3 separate regions of the Homo sapiens genome follow, and all the other regions are linked to region 2. The links are contacts of gene promoters, found by promoter capture Hi-C in human tissues and cell types (Jung and others, 2019). All regions are on one chromosome and are shown on one strand. Each heading gives the region's core, a stretch centred on a gene start or on the middle of the fragment in contact. The rest is flanking DNA. Distances are from core to core; before and after follow the strand shown. Region 1 overlaps ADNP2 (ADNP homeobox 2). Region 2 holds the start of HSBP1L1 (heat shock factor binding protein 1 like 1). Region 3 overlaps PARD6G (par-6 family cell polarity regulator gamma).

Region 1 (3,956 bases), core at 886-3,385, 170 kb before region 2:
CACAGAGAATTACCTGACCCAAAATGTCAGCAGTGCTGAGGCTGGGAAACCCTAACGTACACAACAAAAGGAAGGTGAGGATTCAACCACGCCAGACGGCAGCTGCCTCCTCATCAGCACCTCCTCCACACTCACCCTGAACACAGCCACAGTGAAGGAAACTTCACAGCACTGACACCCCAGTTACATACCTTCTTTGGCACTTTGGGGGCTACCAGTATAGAATCATCAGGAATCTGTAGTTACACCTATTTTGTGACCCCAGTAATTAGACCTTTTGGGTTATGTTCTTATTTTCACACAAATGACAGGTAAGGTTTTTTTAGAAAATAAATGTGGTATCTATTCCCATATAGAGGTTATCCCTATGATTCACAATAATGTTTTAACTTTTAAAAGAATTAAACAGTTCTATTTGCAGCGGTGTAACAAATTTTAATTCAAAATAGACACTCTGAAAACAATAGGTAAAAAAAAAAAATGTTCAACAAGCTCTCTTTGAATTTACAACAGAGTACACCAACAATCATAAACCAGTTTCACAACTGCCTCAAATATGAACATTATAGCAATTACATGCAAGTATTATATTTTTTAAAATCCACATAGTAACATTATGTTTCTCAGAGGCTGTCACATCCTCCAAATATTTCTACCTAAAGATAGAGTGAAGGGGTTCCTCTGCTGTGTACCACCAGAAATATGACTTACCATCTAAACTGGCTGGTCTCCATGACTGGTTCTGGTGCTTTAAGTTTTAATATCGTGTGGGGAAAAAAACGAGGTTTAACATCCACAGGACAGTGACGACAATGGAGATTCTTTAACAATATGCCATCCCATCGACCCGGACACAGCTTCCAGCCTAAACCAGCTAGAGAAAAGCCCGTTTCTCCACTAAACATGACCTTCAGAAAATGTGGTCAAAGACTTACTGTACCAACCATGGAGACTGAGATCTCAGTCTGTAAACTTCGCCATGTCCCCTGAAACCCTATGCTGAAATTTAAGTTAGTTTTCACACTCAGGGGCAATAATCTTATTCCTGAGTATCATAGACCTTCCCTTTCACTAGTTTATGAGTAGTTAAGTTAGGAGAAGAGTTTTGGGGTGTATTCTTTCAATGTTTATTCTAAAGGCACTAAAAATTTATTGTTTTACCTCTGAACGGAGAAATGACTTAGCATATCAAAAGGGAAAATCTACACTGAAAAATATTTCTGCATCTACAGAATAAATTTATTTGTAAAATAACTCTTGATGTATGAGCTACATACCAGCATACCAGATGTCAAATTCAGTCTACTTTTAACAAATAAAAACATTTGATTTTCTATGAGTTATGGTTAAAAAAAAAAACAGCTATTAGGATAAACCTAAAAAAATACAGATCTAAATTATAATCTATAAGCAAAGATCTTACAAAGAAGTCAGCGTAAGTTAATGCAGTGCATCCTCAGGGAGCCTTATACATACATCACAGGGTTTGTACCCACGTCTCTGAACACTCACTGTACCATCTGCTGCTACAGGGAAAGCTGAAGGAGATCGATGCTTCCACTCGCAGTTAAATCAAGTATTCTGAAAAAGGCTGAAATGTCCTTAATGAAAAAGCAAATTATTTATAGATTTCAGTTTCTTATCATACGATACTGACACTAGTGGGAAAACAAGGCGTGCATGAAATATCAAAAGATTTCATTTACATGACAGAGAAAAAAACCTGAAAACAACTGTTCTGTTACAAATCAAACTGCAGGAAACAATAGATGTGAAATAACTACTGGCTTCCTGGTAACAGGGGTCTCTCCAGCACCTGAAGTAACTCTGCAGAGCAGCACAGTGACCACTGAGGTTGATTCACCAACACAGTGAGGACAACACTGTGAAATTTCAACTGAAAAAAATCTACCTACTACTTTAGAGTTACTTTTTTTTTTTTTTGCAAGTTTTATGGTTCATATTCAAAGTTCAATCTATGTTTCACATTTTTAAGTTCAGACATATCAAAGCCTAAAAGTACAGAAGGCTTGTGATTTTTTATTGCTTTCATGCAAATATACCTTCTTTTTCCAAAAAATGAAGCCACATCAATTTTCCACACCCAAAAGAGTGAGGACAACAGTTCTATTTCCTTTTTACTAGGATATGGTTTCTTATGGAAATAATCTTTAAGAAATTGCTTCTTTTCTTCATAAGAACGGCCTTCATATTTTTTAGGATCTAATGCTAAAATCTGAAGAGCCTCGTCCTTGACAATAGGTCCCTCTGTTCTGCTTTCATTCCTTTGTCTTTTAAAAGGCACAACACTCGTCACCTTTTCTGGACCCGGGGCTGCATCGGCATTTAGGATGGGAGGCTGCTCCTCCCCATGCCGCTGGTCTTCGGCCCCTAAGTGGCCGTCAGGCAGCTTTCTCTTAACAGAAAAACTGGAATCATGCATCACTTCACCACTGACTAAAAGCAGTTCACTGTTGTGAATAAAACCCGGCTGGGCCTGCAGGTCTGAGCTGCTGTCCTTGGGAGCACTTCTGCAGCGCACCAAATGGACGGCGATGGCAGCCAGGGTCATATTTCCCGTGTAGACCCCACAGCAGTGGATGCACTTGAAGGCGGGAGACTTCAGGACCGTGTGGACTGTGGGCATGATGTGGTGCCTCTCCTTCAAATGCAGCTCATAGGCCTCAGTTGTCACAAAGGGGCCAAAGCAAAAGGGGCAGGTGGACACTCGCTTGCCGGTGCTCCCGGGGGTGCCCTCAGCCTGAGGCCTCACCTTCACATACACAGGCACCAGTGACTTGGAGTGTATCCCAGCCAGGATTGCCAAGTAGACTTCCCGCTCCCCAAGCTTCTCCTTTGGCAATATGGTGATGAAATCAAGGTGGGGAAAGAGCAGGTTGCCATTGGCATCGACATCTAATTGAAAACCTCTGTTGCTATAATCCATAGGCAACTTCTTCTTCCCCAGGTGCCTATTCCTGCTGTGCTCTGAAAGACCTTTGATATCATGGAAGGTGCATGGACAGAACAAGCACCCCAAGCCATGCATCAGCAAGTGGTGTATAAGCTCTTCCTCAGAGACCAAGCACTTACAAGACAGACATCGCACCGTTTTCTCTCTCATCCACTTTAGAAATGGTGCACACGCTGCCAGTTTTTCAGGCTCAAGTTTCTCACCAGACTTGGACTCGCTGTGCTTATGCGCTACCTCCATGTGGACCTGGTAGACGTTGGACGGAAAGAGCTCGTTGCAGACAGGGCAGGTCTTCCACTGCTTGGCCTGTTTGAGCACCTGGTTTGTGTCTGCTGCAGAGGAGGAGGCCTGAACAAACACGCTCTGAGCAGCATTCACCAGCACTGGAGGAGAGGGCATGCCGGGCATGGAACCGGCCATTGGTGCAGCTGCACCTGACGGCAGGAGCTGGATGGGCATCTGGGGCGGAGCGACAGTCGCAAGGCCTCCAGGGGGAACCGGCAGAGTGACAGACACGGGGGCCAGCGTGTAGGTTGGAATCCCATTCACTTGTTTCCCTGTAGGGATGAGCTGTCTGAGAATAGAGCCTGATGTCAGGAAGGTGGTGTTCTGCGAAGCACCAGGTCTCACTGGCTGATTCACAGGCAGAATGTTGGTGCCCACAGTCTGGTTGAGTTGCAAGACCCCAGGCCTCACTGGCTGGCCCACAGGAAGAACTCCCGACACAACAGGCTGACTAAGCTGCAGAACACCAGAATTCACACCCTGGTTTACAGGCACAACAGCTGAGGAGGAGACTGTCTGGTTGGGAGAAAGAAGCCCAGACGGGACCACCTGGCCTGCAGAGATAACCCTCAATGGGGCTGTCTGGCCTGGGGGAAGAACCCGTGACGGAGCTGTCTGGCCCACAGGGAGAACTCCTGACTGGACCATCTGGCCAGTAGGAAGAACCCCAGAAGTTGCTGTTTGCCCAGGGATAACC
Region 2 (3,933 bases), core at 1-2,500:
GACTTCTGACAAAGGTGCTAAGGCCTTTGGATTCAGAGGGAAAGGAAAGTCTTTTCAACAAGCAGCGCGGGAATCATGAGGGCCACGTGCAGACGGGGCAGGGACCCATCCCCCTCCTCACACCACACACCATGAATGCAGGAGATCACACACCTTGGCCCAGAGCCAAGGCCATAAAGCATGCAGAGGAGGATGCAGGAGAAAATCTCGTGACCCTGCGCTCCTCAAGAATTCTTATGAAATTACTTACCAGGTCACACAGAAATACCACCATTGCTACTGAAAGCGTTTCCTGTTTATATACTGCTTTGTAGTTTACAGACTGACGTCCCACACCATTCACGGTGTAATCTACTCCTCACCCTGCGACCGTGTCCAGGGTGAGATGAGAACAGTGAGGCTGAGAAGCACAAAATTCTCCCAGCTGGGGGTTCAAGATCCCAGGGAGCCCCACGTACCATGGTGTGAATCTAGAATCCCGTCGACATAGGAGGAGGCCCCACCTCTGAACCATGCCAGGGCTTTCTACCTTTGTCAGGAAATTTACGTTAGGGTTTGCACAACGCCCAACACATTCCTTCAGATTCCAGGTCTCTTCCTCATAGCCAGTCCTCTTGTGGGCCTGGAACTCTTTGGCAAGTAGGAAGGCCTGGGGAGCGGGAGGATTTCCCGGAAGAGGCCGGAGCCCTGGGCGCTGCGACACTCGTGGGTCCCCTTTCGGGCACCCTTTGGCCCAGTTGTTTCCCCACTGACCCCGACCTCAATGCCCCCCAGTACTGCAGGGCTCCCCCCAGGACCTCAGGCCCCCCGAGGATCGCAGGGTCCCCCAGGACAGCAGGGCTCCCCCCTGCACCTCAGGCCCCCCCAGGACCGCAGGGTCCCCCAGGTCTTCAGGGGCCCCCCCAGGACCACAGGCCTCCCAGGCACTCAGGACTCCTCAGGACCACAGGAGTCCTCAGGATCGCAGGCCCCCCAGGACCTCAGGGCCCCACGAAGACCGCAGGGCACCCCCAGCACCGCAGGCTCCCCCCCCAGGACCTCAAAACCCCCCAGAACCGCAGGGGCGCCCCCATCCAGAGAGAAGCAGGAGTCGGGGAGGGGCTCACCGCGTCCCGCAGCGCGCGCCCGCCGGGGGCTTCAGGGCCCCGCACGTCCATGTGGACCGCTGGCCGGGGGCGTCAGTGGGGGGTCCCGTGGGCCGCGCGGACCCGGCGCGAGGTGGCGACAGCTAAGCTCCGCGATTCCCGTATGGGCCGCCGGGAGGCCTCGGGCGGAGCGCGCTGCGTTCCAGGGCGGAGGCGGGGCCGGAGCGGAGAGGCGGGCGCTGCACCTGCAGGGACGCAATGTCACCGAGCGGCCGCCTCGGAGGACTGGTCCGCGCCCCCAGGCTCTGCGGCTTCCCGAGCCGAGCCGAGCCGAGGCCCCGGGACGGCCTGGGCGGAGCCGCCTTACTCAAGAGGGCCCGTGGGCGCCACCGGCCACCTACACCCCCAAAACGCTCCGCACGGGCAGTGCATGGGCCTCGGTCACCCCTGCTGCGTTTCTCAGAGACGGGGGCTCGCTCTGTGGCCCAGGCTGGGGTGCAGTGGCGACTATGGCTCCCCGCAGCCTCGACTTCCCGGGCCCAAGCGATCCTCCTGCCTCGGCCTGGCCAGTAGCTGGGACCACGGGCGCGCGCCACCAGGTCCGGCTGATCTTTTTTATTTTTTGTAGAGACGGGATCTTACTATGTTGCCCAGGCTGGTCTCGAATTCCTGGGCACAAGTGATCCTCCTGCCTCGGCCTCCCAAAGTGCTGGGACCGCAGGCCTGGGCCACCACGCCGGGCCTTCCCTGGCCTCTTTCACACCTGGGTTGTGGCTCGTCACCTTGTGGGTGACCTCCCAGGACGGTGTTTTAGGGTTACCAGTCTTGTTGCCATGTCTGTGCCCCTGTGCAGCGCTGTGGGAACAGGGCTATGTCTGGTCACCCCAGCATCCCTAGGGCACAGCCCAGTGACCACACCTGGAAGCTCTGGTGTCTCCATGTGCGGATAAATAAAACACAGCCACCCAGCACCACCGCTGTGGCGTGGCGGTTCCCGCCAGGTTACTTCAGGGCGGATGTCTGTGGCCTGAACCCTAAAGGCCAGGCGGTGAGTCCAGGCCACGGTGCCCAGCGAGGAGCAGGTGTCCCTGAGAACCCAAACAGCCCGGAGGGGATGTGAGAACCACCACAGGGAGCAGGCCCATCACACAGACGGCGCAAAGAGGCAGAAAATTAGCTCAAAAGCAGCTTAGGGACAGAAGCACGCTCATCTCTAGAGTTGTCCTGCTGCCCACGAGTGCCCCACATGTGAGTCCTAATAAACTCACCTACTCACCAAGCTGGACTCCGCCCAGTCATTCTTTGGTCTCTCAGCAACTCCCACTTTAGGGTAAGGTTTTAAATGTGATTCTCGGTTTTTCTCATTACAACCAGTCATCAGGAAAACACAAACCAAAACCACAATGAGCTCCCACTGCAACCCACCAGCATGGCTAGAATCAGAGAGACAAACGTAAGTCCGAGAGGCGTGTGGGGATTGTGGCCCCCCCCACGCAGCCGGTGGGCTGTGAAAGGCTGCAGTGCTGTGAAAAAGTCGGGTGGGTCCTCAGAAGTGAAGCAGTTTCCACAGGGCCCAGCCGCGCCACCCCTAGGCATATACCGAAACGACAGCGCGAGTGCACCAAGTCTACTGCAGCATCAGTAATGCTCAAAAGGTGGAAACCACCCAAATGTCCACCCCCAATAAGTAGGTGACAAAATGCAGATGATAGAATATTCCTCAGCCACACAAAGGAGTGAGGCGCTGACGCACGCTACGAAGCAGGCGGGCCTCCGGAACAACGCTGGGTGGCAGAGGCCAGGCGTGAAGACCCTGAGTGGTAAGTCCATGGAGAGTTGGAACAGGCAAGGCCACGGAGACAGAAAGTTGACTTCTGTTGCTGGGGGCTGCAGGGACGAGGGAGAGTGCGGAGAGATTTAGGAGGTCTGGGGTTTCTTTGTGGGGGGACAAAAATGTTCTAAAATTAGATCGTAAGAAGGTTTCACAACCCTGTAAATATACTCAAAACTGTTGAATTATGCCCTTTAAATGGGTGGGTTTTGTGGTATGTGAATTACATTTCAATGAAGCTGTTAAAATTATTTTTTAAAAGCATGGCCATTTTGCCACTTTTTGTGTGCTTTTAGCATCCTCCTCTTTTTTTCTGTCTCTGAGAGAGGCTGAGATACAAACTTAGTTGTAGGGGCCAGTGTGGACGGCTGAGAAAGACGCGGTGTGGGTGGAAAGTGGCTGCTGTGCTGTGGCTCCCGGCCCACTCCCAGGACCATTCAGGCCTAAGGAATCCTGCCGGGCGGCTTCTGGCTTCTCGGGAAAGCCAGTGTGGGTGGCTGCTGAGGAGGAGGAGGCAGGGCCAGAAGATGCCACAGTACAGGGTGGACGGCCTGCACCCAGGAAAGCCTGCCTGGCGTGGGGGGCAAGGAGTACAAGCCGGTGGTGTTTCCATCAGAAACACACCTCAGTGTCAAGAACCAGAAGTCACTCAAGCTAACTTAGGGGAAAAGGAAATTACGCCTGTAGAGAGGAGGCAGACACAGCGGGCTGGCGTCAGCCCTCCAAGCTCTTCAGAGGGCGCTCATCTCTGGAGGCGGGAGGAGATGGGCAGTGGTGCCCCACGGCAGGGCCACGACAGGGTTCCTCATCAGCCCACAGGCAGCTTTCCTAACCACAGACAGCTAAATGAGCAGGGAGCCAGTCAGACTGCCCTCCTTCCTCCCTTCCAGAAAGTTCTAGAACGTCCCCTCTTCCCTTACTCTGCAGGCACGGAGTTCCCGGAAGCTTTACTCCAGGGACAGCCCAGCATCAAGCTCATGGCTTCAGGGGACGGCTCCCTCGTGGTGGGGGCAGGCG
Region 3 (3,709 bases), core at 429-2,928, 190 kb before region 2:
CCCGGGTCAATGGCGCGGGCCTGGCGCAGCGGCTGCAGCGGGACCTGGCCCTGGACGGCGGCCTCCAGCGGCTGCTCAGCTCCCTGCGGGCCGACCCCCGTCACAGCCTGGCGCTGCCGCCAGGCGGCGTGGAGGAGCACGGGCCCGCGGTCACGCTCTAGACTCCCGAGAGGCCCCCAAATCCTAGCTCCAGTTCCCCGGTAAGGACAGGGACAGGACCTGCAGACTGCATCCGCTCATTTTTTGTTGTTTTTGTGACCACAAAAACAACGCTGCTCTTTGTTTCAACTTCCGGATATAAAAACACAAGTATTGCCTATTTTTATAGAATTTCGCCACAGAACTTAAAATGAACGCCTGTAGAGACACTCTATACCAGGCCTGAGTGCAGGTCTTGGCGCCTTTGCAAAGTGATAGAAAAGATCTGACCAAGTGCAAAAAAATGCTTTTTAAAATTTTTACAAATACTTTGTTTTTAAAGTGAAGCTTTAAAATTACTTTTTTAAAATAGTCAAATTCATGTTTTTAAGTAAGTTGGCCCATGCAACATATCTCAGCATTCTTGCTGTGCTCTCTGCTGACTTGCAGGCGAGGCCGACTGTGCTGATGTACGTGACAAGAGGCTGGTTTTTAATAACGAATGCAGCCAGGTGCAGTGGCTCACGTCTGTAATCCCAGCACTTTGGGAGGCCTACGTGGGCTGATCACGAGGTCAGGAGGTCGAGACCAGCATGGCCAACATGGTGAAACCCTGTCTCTACTAAAAATATAAAAATTAGCCAGGTGTGGTGGCAGGCGCCTGTAATCCCAGCTACCTTGGGAGGCTGAGGCAGGAGAATCGCTTGAACCCGGGAGGCAGAGGTTGCAGTGAGCTGAGATCGCACCACTGCACTCCAGCCTGGGTGACAGAGCAAGACTCTGTCTCGGGAAAAAAAAAAAATACACCCAAACCTGTCCATGTACAACCATGGAGATGAATTCCAGATTTTCACACTGTTCATAGTCATAATTCGGTTGGGACAGGAGAGCTCCCACCAGCACACTTATGGCACCCGCAGCTGTGGAATTGTTCCGGGGCTTTTTTTTGTTTGTTTTGAGACATAGTGTCTTGTTCTGTCATCCAAGCTGGAGGGATCTCAGCTCACTGCAACCTCCGCCTCCTGGGTTCAAGCAATTCTCCTGCCTCAGCCTCCCAAGGAGCTGGGACAGGCACATGCCACCATACCCAGCTAATTTTTGTATTTTTAGTAGAGATGGGATTTCACCACGTTGGTCAGGCTGGTCTTGAACTCCTGACCTCAGGTGATACGGTCCCCCCTCAGCCTCCAAAAATGCTAGGATTATAGACGTGAGCCACAGCACCAGACCAGGGGCTATTTTTGTGACCCACATAGGTGGCCCATTCAGCCTCAAGGGGAAATCCAGGGTAGGAAGCAGCAGCTCTGCTGGACTGGGCTCAGCAGTCCCATTTGGGATGTAAGCCTCTATTGCCTCTAAGATGACCCTTTTCCTGTGGGTTGACTGACTCTGAGGGCGATTTCGGAAATGTTTTCAGCAGAAATGAAGGATAAGCATCGCACATGTCCAGCAATGTCTTTGAGAATGCAGTCATTTGCACGTGAGTTCTCATCTTTGTTTTCTGAAACAGACGTTTCTTTTAGTAAGTCACAATACATGCTAATTTTCATTTCTAGAATGGTCACTGGCAGTTCTCACTTTTAACTATAAGAAGTCACGTGGAACTTAGTGATTTTTAACAAATACTAAATTCATCCTCACTTTATGTTGATCTTCCAGCAACGTTTATATATTTAGTAATTTTAAAAATTCCTATTTGATACAATTAAATTTTATATAATGTGTTTTGCTTGAATAAAATGTTACATTTATACTTTGAGAACTCTGACCAAATCTTTCATACAGATACAGGTAAAGAAATATTTTTCTAGGTTGTCGGAGCTGCGTACCTCCCGCTGCTTCTCCTTGTGGTCCAGCACCACCTGCTGGTCAGTGGCAGAACTGTCCTGACTTCGTGAACATGGAACTGCTAAGAGGGAAAACTGCATCTCAGCATTTTCATTTTTTCTGAATATTAAGTGAAAAGCAAGTTCTATTTTTAAGAAATAGCTTTTGCTGAGGAGTTGTGAATTCCTGCACCTGTGTTTGATGTTATTTGTATGCAATGGATTGCTGGCCCTTTGTTCCTAAGCAAGAGAAGACCAAAGATGCTTCCCCATGACCTCTCCGGTGAGGATCCGCACCCCCCGGACTTGCTCTCTGATGAAGGGCATGTCGTTCAGTGCCCCAGCAGTCAGAAGCAGTTTTTGTGGAACTAAAACTAATAATGTTACCCTCACAAAGGAAATGTTCTTTTACTAAGTTATTGCTGATTCTTGAATGTCTGTTATATAACTGGGTCGGCTATCAAGAAGGAAGGTTATATTTCTTATCACATTTTAAGTTGTTAAGCAAATGTGAGTTTTTTTTTAAGAAATGAGGCTTTCACTGAGATTTGTGTGCTATTCATAATTTTAGGAATTACTGCTTAGAACAGCTGCTTGGGTGTATTTTTCTACACAGGTCTGTACTTCTGCCACTTTCTCCTTTTAAAAAAACAAAACTATGCATATTATGTATTAAAGTTTTCTTGGTTTTATATATCAGAGAATAAAAACTTTTTTGACTTTTGAGTAAACAAAATGCATGAATATTTCACCTGTGTTCTAAGTGGAAGAGAATACCAGAGATAAAGTAATCCCTCAAAGAGAATGACAGATTTATCAAGTGCTTATCATGTACCATCTTTCACGGAATCCGCACATACTCTCTGAGGGACGCAGATGAGAAAATGGGCCCAAGCTCATCAGATAGACAGATGACAGTCCAGAACCCTCTCTCGAAGTCTTTTTGAAAAAGCTTTTCTGAATATTTATACAGCACACAGTCCTTCCTAAATGTGCCCTGGTTGGCACGGTTTTCATTAACACTGTCGTTCTGGCAGCCATCAAGAGTCAAATTACAATTACAAATTCAGTTACTCAGCAAATTACAGATGTGATCACATTGAGCACCAGCATCCTGGAAGCAGCACAGGTACCCTACTAGGAGCTTCACAAGTACTCGCCACCTGCTGAGTCCCCACAGCAACTCTGGACTGTCGGCAGCTGGACAGTTGACCCCCACAGTCTGATGAGGCAGGAGTCAAGTGCCAACACTGGGTACACTCTCCAAAACTAATGTCCGCTTTCAGCAGGATGAGATACGAGGCTTAAGTGTAAGCAGAGGCCACATGTGCCCCTGGCTGCCAGCCGGGTGTGGCCTCAGGCTTGGGTTTCCCTGACCTGATAGTCCACATCATATGGCAAATTTATTCACAATTTGGTGAGGGTATTTAATATTTTATGGTTTCACATAAAATGATCACAGCGAGTGAGAGTTTTGTGGCAAGGTGCAAAAGTATCTAAAAAATGCCATGATTGTTGTGAAATCTATATTAGCGAAAATCTAAATTTTCCAACAGAAGGACATGTAAGTTACCTGCACCTCTGTGGAATGTTTTTAAAGGATGCAAGTATGAACTAAGTGTGGTAGGGTCAACTTTTGATCCTTGCATTTTAAAAGTTGGCACTAGTATGAAGTTTTTTATGGCAGCACTAAAACTCACACGGTCTGAATAGTTTATTAAAATGGTGTAAGGCTGCACTAATGG

The links. The method cuts DNA at HindIII sites, captures the fragments that hold promoters and counts their contacts. A contact is called where the count stands out against the background at its distance.
Region 1: a fragment that was not itself captured here is called in contact with the fragment with the promoter of HSBP1L1 in region 2 in 1 of the 25 tissues and cell types used here (H1 embryonic stem cells).
Region 3: a contact is called between a fragment that was not itself captured here and the fragment with the promoter of HSBP1L1 in region 2, in 4 of the 25 tissues and cell types used here (H1 embryonic stem cells, lymphoblastoid cells, mesendoderm cells and 1 more).

What each region holds. Positions count from the first base shown.
Region 1 is chr18:80,136,805-80,140,760 of GRCh38, reverse strand. ADNP2 (ADNP homeobox 2) reads right to left here. Exons shown (of 4, transcript NM_014913.4): 4 at 415-3,956. The coding sequence ends at 1,952. Among named protein-coding and RNA genes, the nearest start is that of PARD6G-AS1, 9.1 kb to the left of the region's middle. The HindIII fragment of the contact is 6,027 bases long and covers 1-3,956 here.
Region 2 is chr18:79,961,960-79,965,892 of GRCh38, reverse strand. HSBP1L1 (heat shock factor binding protein 1 like 1) reads right to left here and starts at 1,250. Exons shown (of 4, transcript NM_001136180.2): 1 at 1,107-1,250. The coding sequence starts at 1,157. RefSeq lists a silencer at 1,024-1,593 and an enhancer at 2,689-2,768. The HindIII fragment of the contact is 12,330 bases long and covers 1-3,933 here.
Region 3 is chr18:80,156,223-80,159,931 of GRCh38, reverse strand. It overlaps PARD6G (par-6 family cell polarity regulator gamma), which reads left to right. Exons shown (of 3, transcript NM_032510.4): 3 at 1-2,700. The coding sequence ends at 161. All of the region lies in intron 1 of PARD6G-AS1 (PARD6G antisense RNA 1), which reads right to left. Among named protein-coding and RNA genes, the nearest start is that of PARD6G-AS1, 10 kb to the right of the region's middle. RefSeq lists a silencer at 113-182. The HindIII fragment of the contact is 3,906 bases long and covers 1-3,631 here.